Regions from separate parts of the Homo sapiens genome. Here all the other regions are linked to region 2. Evidence: promoter capture Hi-C in 16 types of primary human blood cells and fetal thymus (Javierre and others, 2016). All regions are on one chromosome and are shown on one strand. Each heading gives the region's core, a stretch centred on a gene start or on the middle of the fragment in contact. The rest is flanking DNA. Distances are from core to core; before and after follow the strand shown. Region 1 overlaps PCSK5 (proprotein convertase subtilisin/kexin type 5). Region 2 holds the start of CARNMT1 (carnosine N-methyltransferase 1). Region 3 holds the start of GCNT1 (glucosaminyl (N-acetyl) transferase 1). Region 4 has its middle 26 kb from the start of ANXA1. Region 5 has its middle 19 kb from the start of RFK.

Region 1 (4,245 bases), core at 453-2,952, 1.0 Mb after region 2:
GTAGTCTGTATTATAATACAGACTATATGTAAAGGCAATTCTTTGAATATTGGCTTTGATGGCTTTTTATAGACTATCCTTTTAAAACTGCTTTTTTTTTTCCTTAAGGATTTCTTTTAAACTTGGCCACTTCCCAAGACCCTTGTTCAAGAAGAATCATGACAGTCGTGCTCATCTGGGGTATTCTAGGGTGTCCTGCTTTGACCCATCCTAAGCACTGGCCATGGTTCATTGAGTGCAGTGGGGGATTGATTGTTGGAGGACACAGACATTGTTCCCAGTGTGTGCTTAGGTTTGCCATCCTGACGGTGAAATAGGGAATTTTCACAGGTGTAACACCAGCACTCCCTGCCTCTGTTTTATGGAAGTCAGCAGTGCCGAGGGTATAGATTTACCTTTAGCTCCTCTCAGTAGTTCTGCCTGATTTTTTTTCTCAGCTGACCAAGAGCATGTAGTCAGGCATTTAGGATTAAAATGCCCTCTTTGCTCATTAGACCATAATAATGGATATGATCAATGGATCTATCTTTAAGCATGAATCCACAGATAGATAACTCTGTTTGGATAGTGGCCACCTAGAGTTAGGAAATGAGTAGCTTTGTAGTTTAGAGAAGTTGACTTTTAGCCTTGGCTCTCCTTGATTATCTTTATGGTCTTTTGAGCTAACAACTGAGCTTTCAGTACTTTCTAAAAAGTCTCTAGAATGGGCATAATAATACTTCCCTCTAGGCTGGGCACAGTGACTCACACCTGTATCCCAGTACTTTGGGAGGCCAAGGCTGGAGGATCACTTGAGTCCAGGAGATTGAGACCAGCCTGGGAAACATAGGGAGACCCTGTTTCTACTAAATACATAAATAAATAGCCAGGTGTGGTGGCATGCACCTGTGGTCCCAGAAACTTGGGAGGCTGAGATAGAAGGATTGCTTTAGCCTAGGAGGTCAAGGTTGCAGTGAGCCAAGATTGTGCCACTGCACTCCAGCCTGGGCGAAAGAGCGAGACCCTGTCTCAAAAAATAATAATAATAAAATACCTCTAAAGATTATCAATAAAATGTGTAAAATACCAAGCTTACTACATAATAGATGCTACATAATTACAGTTGTTATTATTATAATTGTGTGTTCTATTCATATATCTAATTCTTGATAAATAACTAGTTAAAAATTACAGTTATCTCAAAATATGTGTGCCTATGAACACTTCAAATTTAAATTAAGACTTGGGGTTTATTTCCGGAGTTAGAAGTTGAGATAGGTTTGTCTGCGTCCTTGGGGGACTTAAGGTTTATTTCCAGGGTTAGAAGTTGAGATAGGTTTGTCTGCTTCCTTGGGGCTGGGAGCTGTGGCTCTTTTCCGTCTACAGTAAATCTGCTTTTCTTTAATTCCATTTTCCCATCTCCCTTAGTAGAGCATGAGTCCTTGAATTTGATATAAAATAGTGAAGGTGAGGAATTTGTAATTATCATCAGAATAAGGAAGTTGAGGCATGTGCTATGCAAATGCCTCCTCACTGAACAATCAGACCAGTAGGCTTCAGAACATATTTGGAATTATGTCATACTTGCCTGCGTTTGTTTATTCATTCAAGCAGTATTCATTAAGACGCTGCTTGGCGAGTGGCTCTGTGCTAAATACCTGGGGAATCAATGATGAAATAGTATAGATTATTAATGGGCTGAATTGGGAGAAAATTTAGTAAGAAACTCTAATGCCTGAAGGGTTTTTAGTACTAACAGAGGATCTAGCCTCAAAACTATGCAAATCATCTCTTAGACTTGCATGATTACATTTCTAGTGCCAAGGCTTTGGAGTGAAGGAAATCACCTCTGAAGTACAAAAGTTATAAAAATCCCTTTCTCGTCACTTTTGCAAGTTCCCAAATGGTGGTATGTCAGACTTAAATAACTGATGCTAAAGAAATAGCGTGATTAGAGGAGATCATAAAAACCCATCCTTCGATTCAGCTTTGCCTCCATTCATATTAGCTTGCCAAATAAAGCTGACTGCATTGTTCTAGGCTTAAAATAGAAAATGCCTCCCTGCAAATGAAACAGTCTGCTAGCATTTCATACTACTACTCCTATTTCCAATAAAATGAATTATTGATGTCTGAGTTATATCAGCCCCTCCCTAGGTTACTTCCTTTTAGAAGTTCTCTGCTTAAAAGTCACAGCAACATTTAGCAGGAGTTGAAACCACAGCATTATATTTTGAACGAGCGGTATGTGGGCCCAGAGTCTAATTCCTTTTCAAAATAAACCAACCTCTGGGTTAAAGACTTGTTTTCTAAAAGGAATAGATTTTTCATGTTGTTTCTTATCTCTGATTCAAGGAAGCTTTAACCAGGGTGAATGGAAGTGAATTTCGTCTAGTTCTTTAGTTTCTTGTCACACATCATTTCTGGTTTTACGAATGTTGCCATGTTGCAGAAACCAAAATGTGTCCTTCCCTTTCCCATTTCTGTAGACAAGGACTGTTGTGAGGAGATAGTGTTCCAAAGCAACCAAAAGATATAGTCAGCATTTTCCGCATATAGGGGAAATATGTTAACTTATTATAATAGTACTAGAGGAAAAAAACACACTGTAAGTCTGTGGCCTTAACACGTACAAACATTTTTTCTTTGTACCAAGGATTTGGCCAAATATGTTAAGATAAAGTTTTCCTATAGCTTAGTAGGTCAGACAAAACTTAACGAAGAAAATGAGGGTCAATATCAGAGGCTGATTTGATTTTCAAATATTTTCAAATTTTTTTCTCTAATACTTTTGCAAAATAACATCTACAGTATACTACATAGTAGATACTTGATCAATGATTATCAAATGAATTTACATAACGTGGACTACAAGTGTACATGTACATTACTAGAGGCTTAATGTATACCAAACATGCAATTGTGGAAAAAAAAAAAATCTGACACTTTCCATATACAGCTGTCTTAGTTCAGGCTGCTATCACAAAATAACTTAGACTGGGTAATTTATAAGTAATAGAAATGTAATGCTCAGTTCTGGAACCTGGGATCGAGGCACCAGCCATTTTGTTGTCTGCTGGGGGCTCAATCCTCATGAGATGGTGCCTTCTTGCTGTGTCCTCACATGGTAGAAGGGACAAACAAGCCCCTCAGGCCTCTTTAAAAGGGCACTAATCCCATTCACTAGGGCTCCACCTTCACAACCTAGTCACCACCGCCCAAAGCCCCACCTCTTAACACCAACATGTTAGGGATTAGAGTTTGACACATGAATTTTGGAGGGACACAAACATTCAGATCATAGTAACAGCCATAGATTTTATATTCATGAAAGAACCTACAGCAAATATTTTAGAAAATTCATTTCTATACATACAGGTTCACGATGCATTACACTGAAGTAAGTAACATCTTTGATCATTGTGTAGGTTCTGGGAAGTGGCCTCCCACGGAAAATTGCGGTGTAATAGGAAAAGCCTTCTTTCACCCCAGAAGCCAGCCATCCCTTCCCCTTCATCTCAACAACTGTTAGTCAGCAAGTCCTGACAATTCATACCAATTAATTCCTCCTCTGTAGTAGCTCTCAAAAGCCTTAGACACAAACCCCCAGCCACCCACAGTAGCCACTATGTTTATTCCCCTTCTCTTACCTATACCCTTGTTAAGAGTCTTATTAAATCGTTTCCTTGTTTCTGGTCTTCCCCTATCCTGCTCCCTGAGTGATATTTCTGAACCAAAATAAGAACATTAAAATCCTTTACTATCTTGACATATGTTAAAAATACAAGACTCTTCAGGACCCATTCCCTTCCTTATTATCGAGTCTATTCTACTCTATGTATCCCCTCCTCTTCTTCCTCCTCCTCCATTCGTCAGGATTTGTGTCATTCCTCTAATGTGCTCCAACTGTTCACCCTTCCACCATCTACACTTGGAGAATTCCTCCTTCACCTCCCACGCATGTCACTTTCTAGTGATGCCTTCTCTCATCCCGCATGGTATGAGCTGGTTATCCCTCCAATCAGTTTCACAGCACCTGTGAACTTATTAATTCTTTTATAAAACTTTTTTAAAATCCTAGATGGGGTCACATTTGCCAGAGTAGGAAATAGAAAGGCAAGAACATATACTAAGTTGATTTTCAGTTTAGTTCGGGATATAAAATATCCATTTGTTCTTTCTTAGAATAATTACAAGAGTACTGACCTTGATTGGTTCATCTAGATGAGTGAGCAAAATGTGTCCGAATTGAAGTTGCTGACCGAT
Region 2 (4,121 bases), core at 337-2,836:
AGTTCCTATCACATATACAATCAGATTCCAAATAACTTTAAGCTTTCACTAAGCAAGCTTCTAAATTCAGACTAGTAAACTAATTTAACTATCAGTCAAAAACTTGACAGACTATTTGGGAATGAGAAATGTATTTCTTTGCTACTATTTGTTTTGTTAAAAATAGAGCTTAAACAACATATGCCAAGCACTAGTGACATAAAAATAAAAAAGACTCAGCCCCTGCCCTTGAGGAGGTCACAGCAAAGCAAGAGATTTATAAAAACAACTATAATACATAAGATGAACAATATAAAAAAACTTTGCATAAAGCACAGCAGGAACCCACCTATGGGAACAGGTTTACCTGCGTAGGAGGTCATGTCTGTCTGATTCCAACTGCAGCCTCAGAACATAGTCACCGGTGGACTCATATCTCTTACGTGAATAAAAGTGTTATCTTCACCTGAAAATCCAGTTGATTTAAGTCCCTTTCAGCTCTTGGAATTATAATTTTGTGATTAAGCTACTTTAACATCTATCTAGAAGAAACGTGGAAGTTAGGGAGCTGTTTTTATGAATGAGGAGCATAAAGGTCCTACCACAGTGCCTAGCACACCAGGGAGAATTAGATACAGATTTGCAGAAAAAAAGAACGTAAAGGCAGCTCTTATTGTGACTTCTCTCATCTCTCCTAATAATTAGCAAATTTTAGAATATCCGGACCACTTCCGCCCTTAATCACCCACCAGTTAAAGACACTGAGCAGCATCATTCAATCGCTCACACAAAAGTGCAAGTGCGTTCACAGCGCCAAAGAGGGGTGGGTGGAAATCTTAAACTGCTCTTACAAGCACTGGTAACAGTTTGGGAAAATACGTCCTACAGCATCCCACGCGTAGGTGAACTTGGGCTCTCCGTGTGTTCAGTTTGGAGGACATCGACCACACACACCAATCAGCCCAGCAGTGGACGATTGTACCACCATCGTCTTCTATCTGAAATTGTTACAGCGCTTCTCTGGTCACCCCCATCGGCCTCAAAGCCAAACCTTTACGAGGACGGAGGCAGGAGAGCTAATCTGATCCTGAGGTCAGAAGACACGAGGCTGTGCAGCAGACGGCGCGGCGGACACGCGGGTGTGCAGGGCCGGGAGGGGCTGGGGTGGTGCGAGGTGACTCGGGGCCCGGAGGTCAGCTGCAGCAGCCGGGTCCCGACGCCTCGGAGGCGTGGCGGCGGGACGGCGAGCGCCCCCGTTCCGGCGGGTCCGCCGCCACCAGTGGGCGCCCCGACGGTCTGGGCCGGGGTCCGCCACGGGCTCCTTACCCGTAGTAGCGGAAGGCATTAATGATCTTCCAGAAGTGCTCACGCTCAAGCCTCTCCTCCTCCTCCTCGGTGCTGCGCGTGGCCGCCGCCGCTGCCGCCGAAACCGCCGCGGCCGAGCCCCAACGCCCGGCGGAAAACTGCACTTCCACCTCCTCGCTGCCACCGCCTCCTCCCCCGCAGCCCTCGGGCAGCCGGGAGGTGGGCGGCGGAGGGCGACGCCGTCGCTGCATCGCCGCCGCGGCCCTCGGCCTGGCTCGCTTGCGTCTCTCCGCGACCGACAGCGTGGTGGCGGCTGCTTGGCCTTCCTCTAGACGGCGCCCGCCGCGGACATGCCCCCAGCTCGCGGCGCGCTCCGCCCCCGCCACCCTCAGGCCTCCATCCGCGCTGGGCTCCGCCAGGTCTTCAGGGCTCCCAGAACCAATGCGCATGCGTGTGCCTTGGTACGCGGAGGGCCCGTGCGGTCTGCGCTCATTTGCTGCCGGGCTTCGGAGACAGCGCGCTGACGTCACAACCACGCTTCCAAGGGCGGGGCCAAGGCCCCTTGGTGGGAGGCGGAGGAGGAGCTCGTAGGTGGGGTGGGACTGGCACTGCCGTTACCTGTGCGCGGCCGCGTGGGTGGGACTTAAAAGCCGGCGAGTGCCGGATTGTTGAGCTGGAGGCTGAACGCGGTCCCAGGCACTAGCAAAGAAGGGAAAGGCAAAAAGGAAAAGTTCGGCTTTGATGATTTTATTCGGAATTTTTATTTCAGAAAGTCTAGAAGGAACGTCTTGTATCCACCCTAATTTAAGTTTTAATTCACTTCCTAAATGAATTCCTATTTTTAATTACTTAAGGGGGTCGGAAGTGGGCGCCATCATCTTTTCACTTTTTTTTTTTTCCCCACTCTGTCGCCCAGGCTGGAGTGCAGTGGTGCGATCTCGGCTCATTGCAACCTCTGCTTCCTGGGTTCAAGCGATTCTCCTGCTTCTGCCTCCCGAGTGGCTGGGATTACAGGCGCGCGCCACCACGCCCGGCTAATTTTAGTATTTTTAGTAGAGATGGGGTTTCACCATGTTGGCCAGGCTGGTCTGGAATTCCTGGCCTCAGGCGATCCACCCTCCTCGGCCTCCCAAATTGCTGGGATTACAGGCGTGAGCCATCGCGCCCGTCCCATCTTTCCAGTCTTTAGGGGCTTGCGGCAGTCCTAATTCCTCCTTTACTGAGGATGGCAACAGATGAGGAAAATGCAAGGACCTTCTATCCAGCACCTGGTCTTGGGAAGACCATTACACCTACCAGCATCTAAGGGTGGCTCTTGGGAAATAACTTATTCTGGGGCCGGGCGCGGTGAATCACGCTTGTAATCCCAGCACTTTGGAAGGCCTAGGTGGGCGGATGACGAGGTCAGGAGATCAAGACCATCCTGGCTTACATGGTGAAACCCCGTCTCTACTAAAAACACAAAAAATTAGCCGGGCTTGGTGGCTGGCGCCTGTAGTCGCAGCTGCTCTGGAGACTGAGGCAGGAGAATGGCGTGAACCCGGGAGGCGGAGCTTGCAGTGAGCCGAGATCGTGCCATCCAGCCTGGGCGACAGAGCGAGACAGCGTCTCAAAAAAAAAAAAAAAAGAAAAGAAAAAGAAATAACTTATTCTGTTCAATTTAATCCACCACCCAGCAAATGAGTCTTACAAAGTAATGATAAAAGGGAAAGATTGCTTTATTCGAGGGGTTAAATATGCCCAGTGACCACAAAGTCTGTTAAAAAGTTACAACCATATTGAAAGTGAAGTGGCTTCATATTTTCATAATTTAAATTAATAGTTGAAATAAAGGTAATGCTTAAAATGACAACATTTTTATATAAAAGTTTTCTAAAACGTGAGTCTATTAATAGTAATGCAGTAATACATGTTTCAAAATTCAAAAAGAAAGTGCAAAGGATTACAAATATGAATTGGAGACAGTCTCGCTCTGCTGCCCAGGCTGGAGTGCAGTGGCACGATCTCAGCTCACTGCAACCTCCCGGCCTTCCAGGCTCAAGCGATTCTCCTGCCTCAGCATCCCGAGTAGCTGGGATTACAGGCATGCGCCACCACACCTGGCTAATTTTTTGTATTTGAAAATACTAAAGTAGAGACGGGATTTCACCATGTTGCGCAGGTTAGTCTCCCTGAACTCAGGCAATCCACCTGCCTGGGCCTCCCAAAGTGCTGGGATTACAGGCGTGAGCCGCCACGCTCGGCCAAGTGTGAATAATTGTTTTACCTGTCCCTAGCCAGCTATGTTCCTCTCCAGACACAATATACCAATTCCTTGCCCATTCTTCCAGATTTTCTATCTAATGTCTATTTTTCCAAACACTAATTGTTCGGAAGTTATGTATAAACACTCATAGTAGTAGCTGTTTCTAATACTGTTCTCATGTACACATGCACAGAAGTTTTACATGTTGTAATTCATTAAATGTATTGATATAGGTCTGAATGACCTAATTGATAAAGGCCAGAATGTCATGGATAAAGATAATCAGCTCCATACTTTGAAATATCCTCGGAGGTAGAATAAACATTTTCAAATTAAAGTTATGTGCAGAGGCTTCCTTGACTCTGTCTCCTAACTTGGTGAGTCTTAGAGTCTGTGTCATGAAGGTGCTCAGCTTTAAACTCAGTTGTGATCTTACAGGTGAGGAAACCAGGGAATCAGAGATATTAAGTGATCTTCATACACCCACCCTCCTCTCATACCTATATTTATCAATATTTGTTTATGACTGTGACTGTACTTTTTAAATATTATGCTAGCTAACATTTGTTTAATTAATATTTTTCAAATTGTT
Region 3 (3,954 bases), core at 411-2,910, 1.4 Mb after region 2:
AAAAGTTTATAAACTTTTATTCCATTTACATTTACCTAATCTACTTGCTCTTAACAATTATGCTTGAATTGCTCATGAAAAATTTCATGAGATATTAAACAAAGCTAGCCATTGAAGGAGTTCAGGAGTTTTTCCCAAAATCATTTCCTCTCCCCTAAATTGTCCCTCCCCAATGAAGAGGATACACAAGCTCCTAAAATCTCAGTTTTTGTTGGGGGAGGCAGAGGGAATATTAGTTTTTCTTTTCTGTGATACCCCCTACACGAAATCTGTGTACTTTTTCTCTTGTTAATCTACCTGCAGTCAATTTATTTCATAGACTTAGTTATCCAAGCCTCAGAGAGTAGAGGGGAAGTCTTTCTTCCTCTATACCATCATCTTATGTTAATTTTTGTTGACAAATCAGGCAAGTGTCAAACATATCACAGTCTAATGGCCTCTGAGTTGGATTTTTTTTTTTTTTTTTTTTTTTTTGAGATGGAGTCTCGCTCTGTTGCCCAGGCTGGAGTGCAGTGACACGATCTCGGCTCACTGCAAGCTCCGCCTCCCGGGTTCACGCCATTCTCCTGACTCAGCCTCCCGAGTAGCTGGGACTACAGGCGCCCGCCACCACGCCTGGCTAATTTTTTGTATATTTAGTAGAGACGCGGTTTCACCATGTTAGCCAGGATGGTCTCGATCTCCTGACCTGGTGATCCGCCCGCCTCGGCCTCCCAAAGTGCTGGGATTACAGGCGTGAGCCACCGCGCCCGGCCAGAATTTTTTTTAAACAACATGGAAACAAATAAGACCTCGTTCTGTTTTCTAGGAGCTAAAAATCCAACGAAAGAAGACACAGACACAATATTCCCCTTGTTACAAAGAGAACTGTGTCAACTTTTATAACTGACACAAAGATCTGTGCTATAAGGGCGGGGAAGGTTTTTTCCTACTTTCCACAGCACTGTGGATTGTTCCACAGTTTAATTTGATCTTAATTTTTATGTGGAAATACACATGAATGTAATGAGTTCTTAAATGCTAAATTTAGGAAGCAAGGTTCGTTAGGGGAGAGAAAAAAACACCTACATGGTTATCTCTAAACTTTACATATCGAGAACCTTGGAATTTAATTTTATTGTTGTTCTGTAACATATTTTCATGTTTAAAATCAGAAAAGGCAGCATTTCTCGAGTTTCCTGCTTTCGAGGAAGGGAGGCATAAAATGTTTAAAAAGACGCCGCTCACACACCTCTTAAGAATCAGAGCACAGTGAGGAAGAGGAGCGAGGAAGCACTAGGATCGCAGCGCTACTCCCAGACCACGTCAGTGCCCAGAGGGCGCCCTCGCCTGTAGGCGGGAACCGCGAGTCCGCAGCAAGTCCCCAGCCCCGAGCTCGCGCAGGTGGGCGAGGCGGGGACGTGGTGGGCGGGGCCTAGAAAGGCGGGGCCTCTGGGGGCGGCCCCGGGGCGGGCCACGCTGGTGTGAGGGCTGCAGGCGCAGCTCCGGAGCGCCTAGAGCGCGGCGCGGGGCGGGAGCTTGGTGGAGCAGGAGCGGCTGGGCATCCTCCTGAGACTCCGGGGTCAGACGCCCACTCCAGGTAACCGGCTCTCCCTCGTGTTCCCCTGCTCGGCCGCCCGGCGGTGGGGGAAGGCTGAGAAGGATGGGTGGGAGGGAGCCGGCTCTCAGCCAGTGCCCCGTGGCCCCGGGCGGGCTGGGCTCCCCCGCGGAGGAGGAAGCAGAACCGGGGTGCGCCCGGGACCGGAATGGAGCGGCGCCTCTTCCTTCCACCTTCATTTTCCGTCCGCTCAGTGGGGCTGGGACGCCGGTGCCCCGTGTCCCCTGAAAGTCACTTTCTGGCCTCTTGCCCCTGGTCCGTGTAGCTTAGATGTCGGAGGGGTTGGCTGCGGGCGTGGATAGGCAGGGAACGAACAGACTCGCTGCCATCCCATGGGTGCCAGGGGCTTAACTTCATTTAACTTCATTGAATCCTAACGCCAGCCCGGCTAAGATGCATTTTCACCCCTACTTTACTGATAAAGAGGCCAACGCTAGGATAATAAATGACTCACCCTGGAGCAAACTATTACTAATAAGAAAAGAGACGTTAGTTTAGGGGCTCCGAAGCCTCTCCTTTCCTGCTCCCTCGCTTTCCTTCTTCTCGCGGCAGTCTAGGAAACTCGCGCGCAGGGTCTATTACGAAAACAAGTGATTCGTCTTAAAAGCATTTTACCCCCTCCTAGGTTTCTCTTTCCTCTTTTTTTTAAGTATCTCAGGCAGATTCCTCCAAGTTTTGGTTATTAGGTTTTTGAAATGGAAGAAGCCCTTGCTCACTGCTTCTTTTCTCCTGGCAGCGCTTTCTGCGCAGCACAGGCACCCTCGCCTGTCACGCCTCCCTCTCCTCTTCCCGTCTCCCAGCGTGGATGAGGGCGCCTGCAGATCCCGGCTAGGGCACGGACCGCCTAGGCCGAGGTAGGTTCTGTAGGCACCTGGCATGCTGTAGATGCATATAAACGTTGCCCTGTACACCCTTTGCCTTGTTATTTCTTTCTGCAGAAAAGAGAGTCGGTTTTTTACACATAATGGGGCAAGAGGCCAATTGGGAAGATATATGGTGTTCAAAGAAAGCCGTGGTGCCTTGAGATGAGAATGCGGCCACAGCTTTTTGTGGGCTGAATTTGATGGGTGGGAGGTGAGAGACGTGGTCTGGAAGTTGTCTCTTCGTCTGGCATTCTGCCCCCCTTCCAGAGCTGTTCTGAAAGGCCGGTTTGTTTTATAGAGGGGAGGAGGAGGGCTTAGTAGTTTTTAAAGATCAGTGTAAATTACCTGCTAGGAGCTTAGGCAATTCCAGGCAGGCCCCCCTGCTGGAGGCTTTCGTAACAGATTTCAGTTCTAGCAGGGAGGAAAACTCAGACTGTGTAGATACCTGCTTTTTCTTAAAGGAATTTTTTTCGGGCCCTTAAAATGGTAGTTTTGGGAAACTGATTTCTTAGAAATGGCAAACTCCTTTATTTTAAAATACAATATACCAAACTATGAATTTACTTTTAAAAAGTTTTATTGGCCGAGAGGTTGATATTTTTTCCATTTCATGATGAGGGTTTGACGGTCACTGCCACCTCCTCTGCCCGTCCTTCAACTTGGCCCTGTAAAGGATCTCCTTAGCCTTGGCCCCAAGTTTGTACTAGATTCTATCCTTCATTAATTATAGTTCATTCTTGATTAATGATAGCAATGCTTCCACTCACTTTTTAAGGAGTTACTCCTTTTCCGTTTGTAATTGAATTGCTTAACAGTAAGAAAAACGTTTTTCCCTAAAACTGGGATCACAAAATCCACTTTATCCACATGGACTAAACAGGTAATGCACAAGAGTGCTTGGTTGGGCCCAGGTGACTGCAGAGGAACCTGCTAAGGCTGGGTGGATATTGGCCATTTCCACCGAGTATCCATGCAGGAATTCCCATTCAGCCATACAGTGTAGGCAGCTTTTTTTTTTTTTTTTTTTTTCCACGAATAGCTGAGAACTTTTACTTAAAAATAAAAAATGTAAAGCCTGATTTTAAATATTGGCTCATATTTTTTCCTTTTTAGAACACAAAGAGGGCCGGGCGCAGTGGCTCACACCTGTAATCCCGGCACTTTGGGAGGCCCAGGCGGGTGGATCACGAGGTCAGGAGTTCAAGACCAGCCTGGCCAAGATGGTGTCTCTACTAAAAATTCAAAAATTAGCTGGGCGTGGTGGCTAGGCGCCTGTAATCCCAGCTACTCGGGAGGCTGAGACGGAGAATTGCTTGAACCCGGGAGGCGGAGGTTGCAGTGAGCCGAGATTGCACCACTGCACTCCAGCCTGGGTGACAGAGCGAGAGTCTGTCTCAAAAAAAAAAACACACACAAAGAGCCTGGGCATGGTGGCTCACACCTGTAATCCCAACATTTTGGGAGGCTGAGGCAGGTGGATCACTTGAGGTCAGG
Region 4 (4,222 bases), core at 1,241-3,740, 1.9 Mb before region 2:
GTATATATACACACATATGTATATATACGTATATACACACACATATGTATATATACGTATATACACACACACATATGTATATATGCGTATATACACACACATATGTATATATGCGTATATACACACACATATGTATATATGCGTATATACACACACATATGTATATATGCGTATATATACACACATATGTATATATGCGTATATATACACACATATATGTATATATGCGTATATATACACACATATATGTATATATACGTATATATACACACATATATGTATATATACGTATATATATATATAGTGTGTGTGTGTGTATGTGTGTGTGTATGGCAATGATTTGAATGCCTCTTCTGAAACTCATGTTGCCATTTAATTGCCATTGTGACAGTATTAAGAGGTAGAACTGTTATGAGGTGATTAAGTCAGGATGGCTCCACCCCATGAATGAATTAATGTCGTTATTGCAGGAGTGGGCTCATTATTGCAACAGTGGGAATTTATAAAAGCCAGTTTGGTTCTCTCTTGCTTGCTCTCATGCTCTCTTGCACTTCCGCCTTCCACCATGGGATGATGCAGCATGAGAGCCCTCACCAGATCCTGGCACCTTGCTCTTGACTTTCCAGCCTCCAGAACTATGAACCAAACAAATTCTGTTCATTATAAATTACCTGGTTTGTGGGTATTCTATTACAGCAACATAAAATGGATAAAGACTATATATATATATACACACACACACACACACACACACACTCACAAATATATATTCATATTATATACTTAACTGTATTCAATATTAGCATCTCAATTTTACAGGTTAAAAAATATTCTGAAGATTAGTTAGCTAAATAGCATACTCAAGGTTGTACAGTAAGTAAAAGATTCAGAAATTTAAGATAATTATTTACTTATTTATGGATCTTTCAATTTATTTATGTATATTACACCATAAAAAAACCACCTTAATGAAGACAGGTACAGTTGACCCTTGAACAGCATGTGGGTTCGGAGTGCCAACCCTTTGTATAGTCAGAAATCTGAGTAGAACTTTTAACTCTCCAAAAACCTAACTGCTAAATAGCCTGCTGTTAACTGGAAGCCTTTCCAATAACATAAACTGTTGATTGACACATGTTTGTATGTTATATGTATATATACTGAATTTTTACAATAAAGTAAGCTAGAAAAAATGTTATTAAGAAAATCATAAGGAAGAGAAGACATATTTCTTCTCAATGGAAGTGCAGCATCATAAAGGCCTTCATCCTTCTCATCCTTAGGTTGAGTAGACTAAGGAGGAGAAGGAACAAGAAGGGTTAGTGTTGCTGTCTCAGGGGTGGCAGAGAAAGAGGTAGACAGGTAGAAGGGGAGGCAGGAGAGGCAGGCACACTTGATGTAACTTTTACTGAAAAAAAATTAATGTATTAAGTGGCCGTATGCAGTTCAAACCCATGCTGTTCAAGGATTAACTGTGTATGGACTGTTTTTCACTCCTATATTTTCAGTACCTAAAACATTTCCTGGCTAAATCAATATGGTTGCATAGATAAATGAAGGCAAGTAGTATGACCTCTGAATCACTATTCTCAGCCACTGAATACTGCAGCTTCTCTGGAGACACTCAGAGACTTGGATGGATGAGGAATAAGGGTGAGGTGCTGTAAGTCAGAGAAAACTAGGATGACACACACATGAGTAAGAACAGGTTTAAATGAGATAATATTACAATATTAGAATATATGCTGATTTGTGTGCTCACCAAATGTTTGCCTTTTCAGTTCACACCTTGTCCAACTTTGTAACAGTTATGGACTTTTGGGTTTTTTTCCTCACAATAAGCCTATGTTCTGTAAGCATGAAGTTATTGTGTTTTAAGATTTTTAAAAAAATTTTACTTTAATTTCTAGGATACATGTGCTGAACGTGCAGGTTCGTTACATAGGTATACGTATGCCATGGTGGTTTGCTGCACCTATCAACCCATCATCTAGTTTTTAAGCCCTGCATGCATTAGATATTTGTCCTAATGCTCTCCCTCCGCTTCCCCCCACTCTTTTTCCTATATGTGTTAATTGGAGATTGGCTGAATTGGAAAGTTAATATTTTTGTCTATATTTAGTTTCTAGGATTTAAATACTAACTCAGTTTTGTTTCCTGGGAATAAAATTGTCTCTTTATTGTATTATAACATGAGATTTTGATGTTTTAATTTGTAGATTTAAAAGTTAATTCACACTGGTTGTGAATAAAGCATTTGTGAAACTAACATAAAAATAGTTTCCCATACAAAATATAATGTCCATGCAATATTTATTTAAAAGTTTATTTTAGCTCCGGAAAGGTGTTGAAGATTATTCTATTAAAAGTTGAATTGTGTTTGGGATATTTTCTATTGTATGGGTATAAACAATGTCCCCACATAAATTCATTCTTGAAGATAACCCAAAGCCCCTTTTACATTAATTTCTCATGTCACTTATAAAGTAACATGCAACATTTTCAATTTCTATTATTAAAAATAGTACTAAATGATTTCACATCAATTCTTATATTTGACAGAATAAAAATATAATCACCTAATTTTTGTATATATTTATATAAAATATTCCTAATTTGAATAAAAAATACTATACCACATTTACCATTTTGTATCTCTTTCTATTAAGAACTGCATCTCTATGTTTTGTTCTTAAAAGTTTGAAAGCTGGATCATCATTCTTGTAATTTTTTTAGATAATAAGAAAGATGTTAGGTATATTAATTTTGGAGTTAAAGATTCATAGTAAATATCTTTTGCAGGCAATGAATATGTAAAATTATAATCCCAGGTAAAGATAACAACCATACAAACAGGCCGGATACAGTGGCTCACGCCTGTAATCCCAGCACTTTGGGAGGTCAAGGCAGGTGGATCACGAGGTCAGGAGTTCGAGACCAGCCTGGCCAACATGATGAAACCCAGTCTGTACTAAAAATACAAAAATTAGCCAGGCGTGGTGGCATGCACCTGTAATCCCAGCTACTCGGGAGGCTGAGGCAGGAGAATTGCTTGAACCCAGCAGGCGGAGGTTGCAGTGAGCCAAGGTCGTGCCTCTGCACTCCAGCATGTGTGACGGAGCAAGATGCCGTCTCAAAAAAAAAAAAAAAAAAATCATACAAACAATAGAGATGAGGAGCGAAAAAAGTAAGATCAACTTTAACATTTTACTATATGGTAGAATGTCATTCAATGAGTCATTATATTAATTAGATTTGGAAATATAAAATTATGTACAATCAGATTTAACAAAGTAGACTAAAATATGGGTCTTATTATTAGTCCTTTATGGAAGCAAAGAGGTTCTGCCACTTGTGTGATTGTTTACTGCATTTTTTTCTTACATATAGACAACAATTCTCAAAGTTGGCTATGCATTTTGTTTTTTAGGACTGTGATGGAAATCCCTGTGTGTGCAGTTAAGAAAACAGAATTTAATATATATTAAACTAAGCAGAGGCTTTAATAGTAATCAATCAACTAAGTGTTCTTTTTATTCTTCCAGTATCCTAGACTTTCCTTATCCTCGGTTAATGTTGTACCTGGTGGTCTAAATTGATCATTCTGTGGGGGACACATTTCCTCAGCCTTGAAGGAACTGTGCTCTTGGTACCCTGCCCTCATCCTACTACAGCTGCTGTATTTACTCATTCACTTTTATCAGCAGGTGGAGAAACGTCAAGATGTATCCAAATGATCTTCCCGGGTCCATAGTTGATACTCTATTATATAAAAGCTATCCTGGGTAAACTTTTTAGAGCAGCCTACATTGACCAAGTATGAGTGGCAATTTCAGGTTCCTTTTCTGGAAAAAACAGGATGTCTAATGGAGCAAAAGCTAAAATTGTGAGGACAGAAATCAGGTGTTCTGCAAATGGTTTCCTGGCAATGAAGGCTTAGGGCCAGAGAAGACACCATGGGTGCTCTTCCCTCTGATGGCTCTTTCACTACATTCATAGCTGCCTCAGTGTGCTCTCAGTCCCATGAGACAGCACCCTGTGATTATCAGTGGCTGCTGTATTAGTTTGCTAGGGGTGTCTTTAAGACTGGGTGTCTTAAACAATAAACATTTATTTTCTCAAGGTCCAGAAGCCAGAAATGTAAGATTAAAGCATCAGCAGGTTTGGTTTTTCTGAGAAAACTCTCTCACGTGGTATGGCAAGGAGAGAGGCCATTTCTCTT
Region 5 (3,909 bases), core at 1,318-3,817, 1.3 Mb after region 2:
TATCAAATCAATTTAATCTCCTATAGATGGGTTTCTGATTACCTTAAATAGACTTGTCTCCTGACATTTGTTCGTGAGGGTTAAAGATTATGCACATGAAAGTCTGTCATAAACTATAAGTTGCTACACCAATGTAATTATTTCCTTGTTCACCTGTTATCTGTCCTAGGTAGGCATGCGCCACTTATACTGCAGAAACTGGGAGAAATCAAACAATATTCTCAGACCAACCATCTGGATTTGGCTTCTCAGAAAACGAATGAAGTCAATTGGTAGTGGCAACATAATTTGTGGTGTCCAGTGTAAAAATATTACAAATTTCAAGATGGCAGCAGCAGCACATGGGACCCATATAAGCACCAGGCCCTGGTCAGGCATGGTGGTGCACACCTGTAGTCCCAACATTCTGGGAGGCTGAGGTGGGCGGATCCCTTGAGCTCAGGAGTTCAAGACCAGCCTGGGCAACATGGTGAAATCCCGTCTCTACAAAAACTACAAAAATTAACTGGATGGGATGGTGGGCACCTGTAGCCCCAGCTATTTGTGAGGCTGAGGTGGGAGGATCCTTTGAGCCCAGGAGGTCAAGGCTGCAGTGAGTCGAGATTGTGCCACTGCACTCCAGCCTAGGTGACAAAGTGAGACCCTGTCTCAAAAACTAAAAATAAGCATGAGGCCCTGTGTTGTTGATTGGCCACAGGGCACACCCACAGAGCTGACCCTGATATTCAATATACTCACAGCACTGATCAGCTTGCAAAATGCATCAGCTACTGCATCTACCTCCACCCACAAGTGGATCAAAGAATTTAGATACCAAACTCACCCTGCCTGACCTCCCTGGGCTGTGGTAGCTTTGAGGGGAGGAGAACAGCTCTTTAAGATCTACAAATCATGTAAGCACTGAGGAAGATGGCTTGATATGGAAGGGGAAGAATTTCAGACATGAAAAGCTTAATTAAAAGCAAGCTGGTCTTCAAGTCCAGGATATCTTCATTCCCATTTCAGCTCCACGTGACACTGGCCAACTCATTTGACATAATATATACGGGTATGCATTGTGCGTTATAAACGTGTAAACGCACATGACAATTAAGTGTCAATTTTTACTGTTGCCCTTTCTAATGGTAGTTCTTGGCCCTTTTAGGAGACGCGCCCACATTCTGACCCTGGGCCGCACTAGTGTTGTCACTCTACAGCCTACAGCTCTATACTCTTTCCAAAGCAAGGTTAGGGATGGCTTTATTGTCCCAAATCACAAATCACCCTTTTTTTTTTTCCATTTCTTCTCTGGTTCTTACTCCCTCTGTGCTAAAAAAAACAAAAACAAAAACAAAAACAAAACCACCCTGTCAATTGGTTAATTTCCCATGCAACCTGCTTGGAAGTCTGCAATGCTTTGAACAGCAGGGTGTGGGAGGAAGTGTTGGCCCTACTCACCCTGCCTGACCTCCCTGGGCTGTGACGTCAGAGCTCTGTTTACATAGCTGAGGGACTGGGAATGCTGGAGTGGAGGAAGGAGGTGATGAATGATTCAGGAGGACACACAACATCCCTGCTTTTCTTTCCTGCTGGCTTCTCAGCTGCTCCAAGCAGCAAAGAGAGAAGAAATCGTAAGATTCTGCTCTGTCATTTGGAGCCATCTGTTTCCTTTCTTTTTCCTTCCCTAGAAACTTTTTTCAATAAACAGTATAAAGGAGACACCAGAGGATGTCTACAAGAGCAAATTCATCTTTCTTCAAATGTAGACTTTTGGAAACCTTTGGCATTTACAGAAAAAGTCTCCGATGCTGCTGTTCTTTCCTCCACATCTCAAATGTACTAGAAAAGATGACATGCTTTGGAAGGCCAAGGTGGGCAGATCACCTGAGGTCGGGAGTTTGAGACCAGCCTGACCAACGTGGAGAAACCCCGTCTCTACTAAAAATACAAAAAATTAGGCGGGCGTGGTGGTGTGTGCCTGTAATCCCAGCTACTCGGGAGGCTGAGGCAGGAGAATTGCTTGAACCGGGGAGACGGAGGTTGTGGTGAGCTGAGATCGCACCATTGCACTCCAGCTTGGGCAACAAGAGATAAACTCCATCTCAAAAAAGAAAAGAAAAGAAAAGATGACATGATAAGAGGCTCCCTTATTTACTGCATCTGGCTGAGGTAAAGAGAGCTAATGATTCCTTCCAACAAAATGCACTCAATATATATTTTCTAGAGGCCAGGTGTGGTGGCTCACACCTGTAATCCCAGCACTTTGGGAGACTGAGCTGGGAGGATTGCTTGAGTCCAGGCATTCGAAACCAGCTGAGTAACATAGGGAGATCCCATCTTTACAAAAAAATTAAAAACTAGCTAAGCATGGTGGTGCACACCTGTGGTCCCAGCTACTTGGGAGGCTGAGGTGGGAGGATCGCTTGAGTTCAGGAGTTGGAGGCTGTAGTGAGCTACAATCCCACCACTGCACTCCAGTCTGGGTGACAGAGCAAGACCTTGTCTCTTAAACAAACAAACAAACAAACATCTATTCCCTAGGGACCTACAATATGCCAGGCACCACATGGGGGTGATGAAGATAAAGTCAAATAAATTGGAATTTCTTTTGGAGACTGTATGTTCTTCAAGGTCAGGGATATTATTTTATTCCACTCTGTACCCCTAGCACATAGCAGAATGCCAGCATACAATAGCTACTCCATAAATATTTAAGGAGTATGTATTTGCTCACAGAAATCATTGTCTTGACCTGAACAAAACTGGACTGTGCACATAATTTAGGGAAGAATTTACTGTGTCTTTAAAATCACATTGTTATCTTTGGCCATGATAAAAAAAAATCTCCAGCACCACAAAAACAATTGGCATTTGTGAAGCACATACTGTTTTTTAGGTACCATTAGAAGCACTTTGCATGGATCAGATAGTTTCATCCTTTTAATCATCCTAACAACCCTATGAGGTAGGCACTATTGTTATCCGGGTTTTATGGATAAGACACTAAACCACAAAGAGGTAAAATAACTTGCCTGGCTCCAGAGGCCTTGATCTTGATCTCCCGTATTGCAGCTGCCTAATCCCTCCAAAACCAAGCACAGGGAGAACAAATTAAAACAGGAACTTTTCACTTTTTTGGACCACATTCACAGTAAAAAATAAAATTTACACCAACACTTATTTATAAAACTGAAGCAAAAGTTTCAGGAAACAATATTTATCCAACCAATATATTTTCCAATGCTTTCTAGTTTATTATTATTTTTTAAAAGATGACCAAAATCCACTAATTTGATCTCACAGTATATAGTTTGAGAAACTCTAGATTAGGGAAGAGAACCCAACCCTACGTGGCTGACTCTCAGCTTGCTGTGATGAAAACATATTCTCTTTCTGAACTTTCCCTTTTGGGGCAATTCAATTGCAATGTCTGTAGTATGCCCAATGCCTCCTTTAGCAGACTGCCTCCAAGAAGCATTTCAGACCCTGAGCTTCTGGAAGTCTTTCATCTGTCCCTCTTCTGGGTCACTTTACCTCTCCAGGCTGCCATCTTGAATGGAATCTTCTGCAAATATGACTCCAGTCATATCTGCAGACCTGGTCCATGGGAAGCATGCATCTTTGTCCACCCTCAACCCCCTACAGAGAGGATGAAAGTGCTGCCTTCTCTCTTCCTGCTGTGTTCTCTTGCCAATCCAGCCACAACTTCTCATACAATTCTTATGTCCCACCTCCTAAGCTAGGGGGACACAAGTCAAGCTCCCTGATTGATACTTAAAGGGGATATAGGCGGAGCACACTGATATCTCCAAAGGAATTCTTCCCCCCTCCCCTCTTCAACTCCACTCCCTTATAAATTGAAATTAGTTATGGGCAGAAAGGGTTTCACAATCTTTTAGCATGACCTGGATTTTCTAGGACTTGGAATGT

Evidence for each region. Contacts are between HindIII fragments. The CHiCAGO score rates a contact against its expected background, and 5 or more counts as called.
Region 1: a contact is called between a fragment that was not itself captured here and the fragment with the promoter of CARNMT1 in region 2, in 1 of 17 cell types (activated CD4 T cells). The highest score is 5.2, in activated CD4 T cells.
Region 3: a fragment that was not itself captured here is called in contact with the fragment with the promoter of CARNMT1 in region 2 in 1 of 17 cell types (total CD8 T cells); the score reaches 6.9 in total CD8 T cells.
Region 4: a fragment that was not itself captured here is called in contact with the fragment with the promoter of CARNMT1 in region 2 in 1 of 17 cell types (total B cells); the score reaches 7.0 in total B cells.
Region 5: a contact is called between a fragment that was not itself captured here and the fragment with the promoter of CARNMT1 in region 2, in 1 of 17 cell types (total CD8 T cells). The highest score is 6.7, in total CD8 T cells.

The regions. Positions count from the first base shown.
Region 1 is chr9:76,030,679-76,034,923 of GRCh38, forward strand. The region is part of intron 5 of PCSK5 (proprotein convertase subtilisin/kexin type 5); the gene reads left to right. Among named protein-coding and RNA genes, the nearest start is that of PCSK5, 140 kb to the left of the region's middle. The HindIII fragment of the contact is 1,268 bases long and covers 1,069-2,336 here.
Region 2 is chr9:75,026,707-75,030,827 of GRCh38, forward strand. CARNMT1 (carnosine N-methyltransferase 1) reads right to left here and starts at 1,587. Exons shown (of 8, transcript NM_152420.3): 1 at 1,306-1,587. The coding sequence starts at 1,535. RefSeq lists an enhancer at 419-468 and a silencer at 1,119-1,808. The HindIII fragment of the contact is 4,364 bases long and covers 56-4,121 here.
Region 3 is chr9:76,457,727-76,461,680 of GRCh38, forward strand. GCNT1 (glucosaminyl (N-acetyl) transferase 1) reads left to right here and starts at 1,456. Exons shown (of 4, transcript NM_001490.5): 1 at 1,456-1,579; 2 at 2,334-2,451. RefSeq lists silencers at 1,241-1,780, 2,771-2,840 and an enhancer at 2,391-2,500. The HindIII fragment of the contact is 6,561 bases long and covers 1-3,954 here.
Region 4 is chr9:73,124,216-73,128,437 of GRCh38, forward strand. No RefSeq gene overlaps it. Among named protein-coding and RNA genes, the nearest start is that of ANXA1, 26 kb to the right of the region's middle. The HindIII fragment of the contact is 7,110 bases long and covers 1-4,222 here.
Region 5 is chr9:76,373,859-76,377,767 of GRCh38, forward strand. No RefSeq gene overlaps it. Among named protein-coding and RNA genes, the nearest start is that of RFK, 19 kb to the right of the region's middle. RefSeq lists a silencer at 3,462-3,722. The HindIII fragment of the contact is 3,239 bases long and covers 949-3,909 here.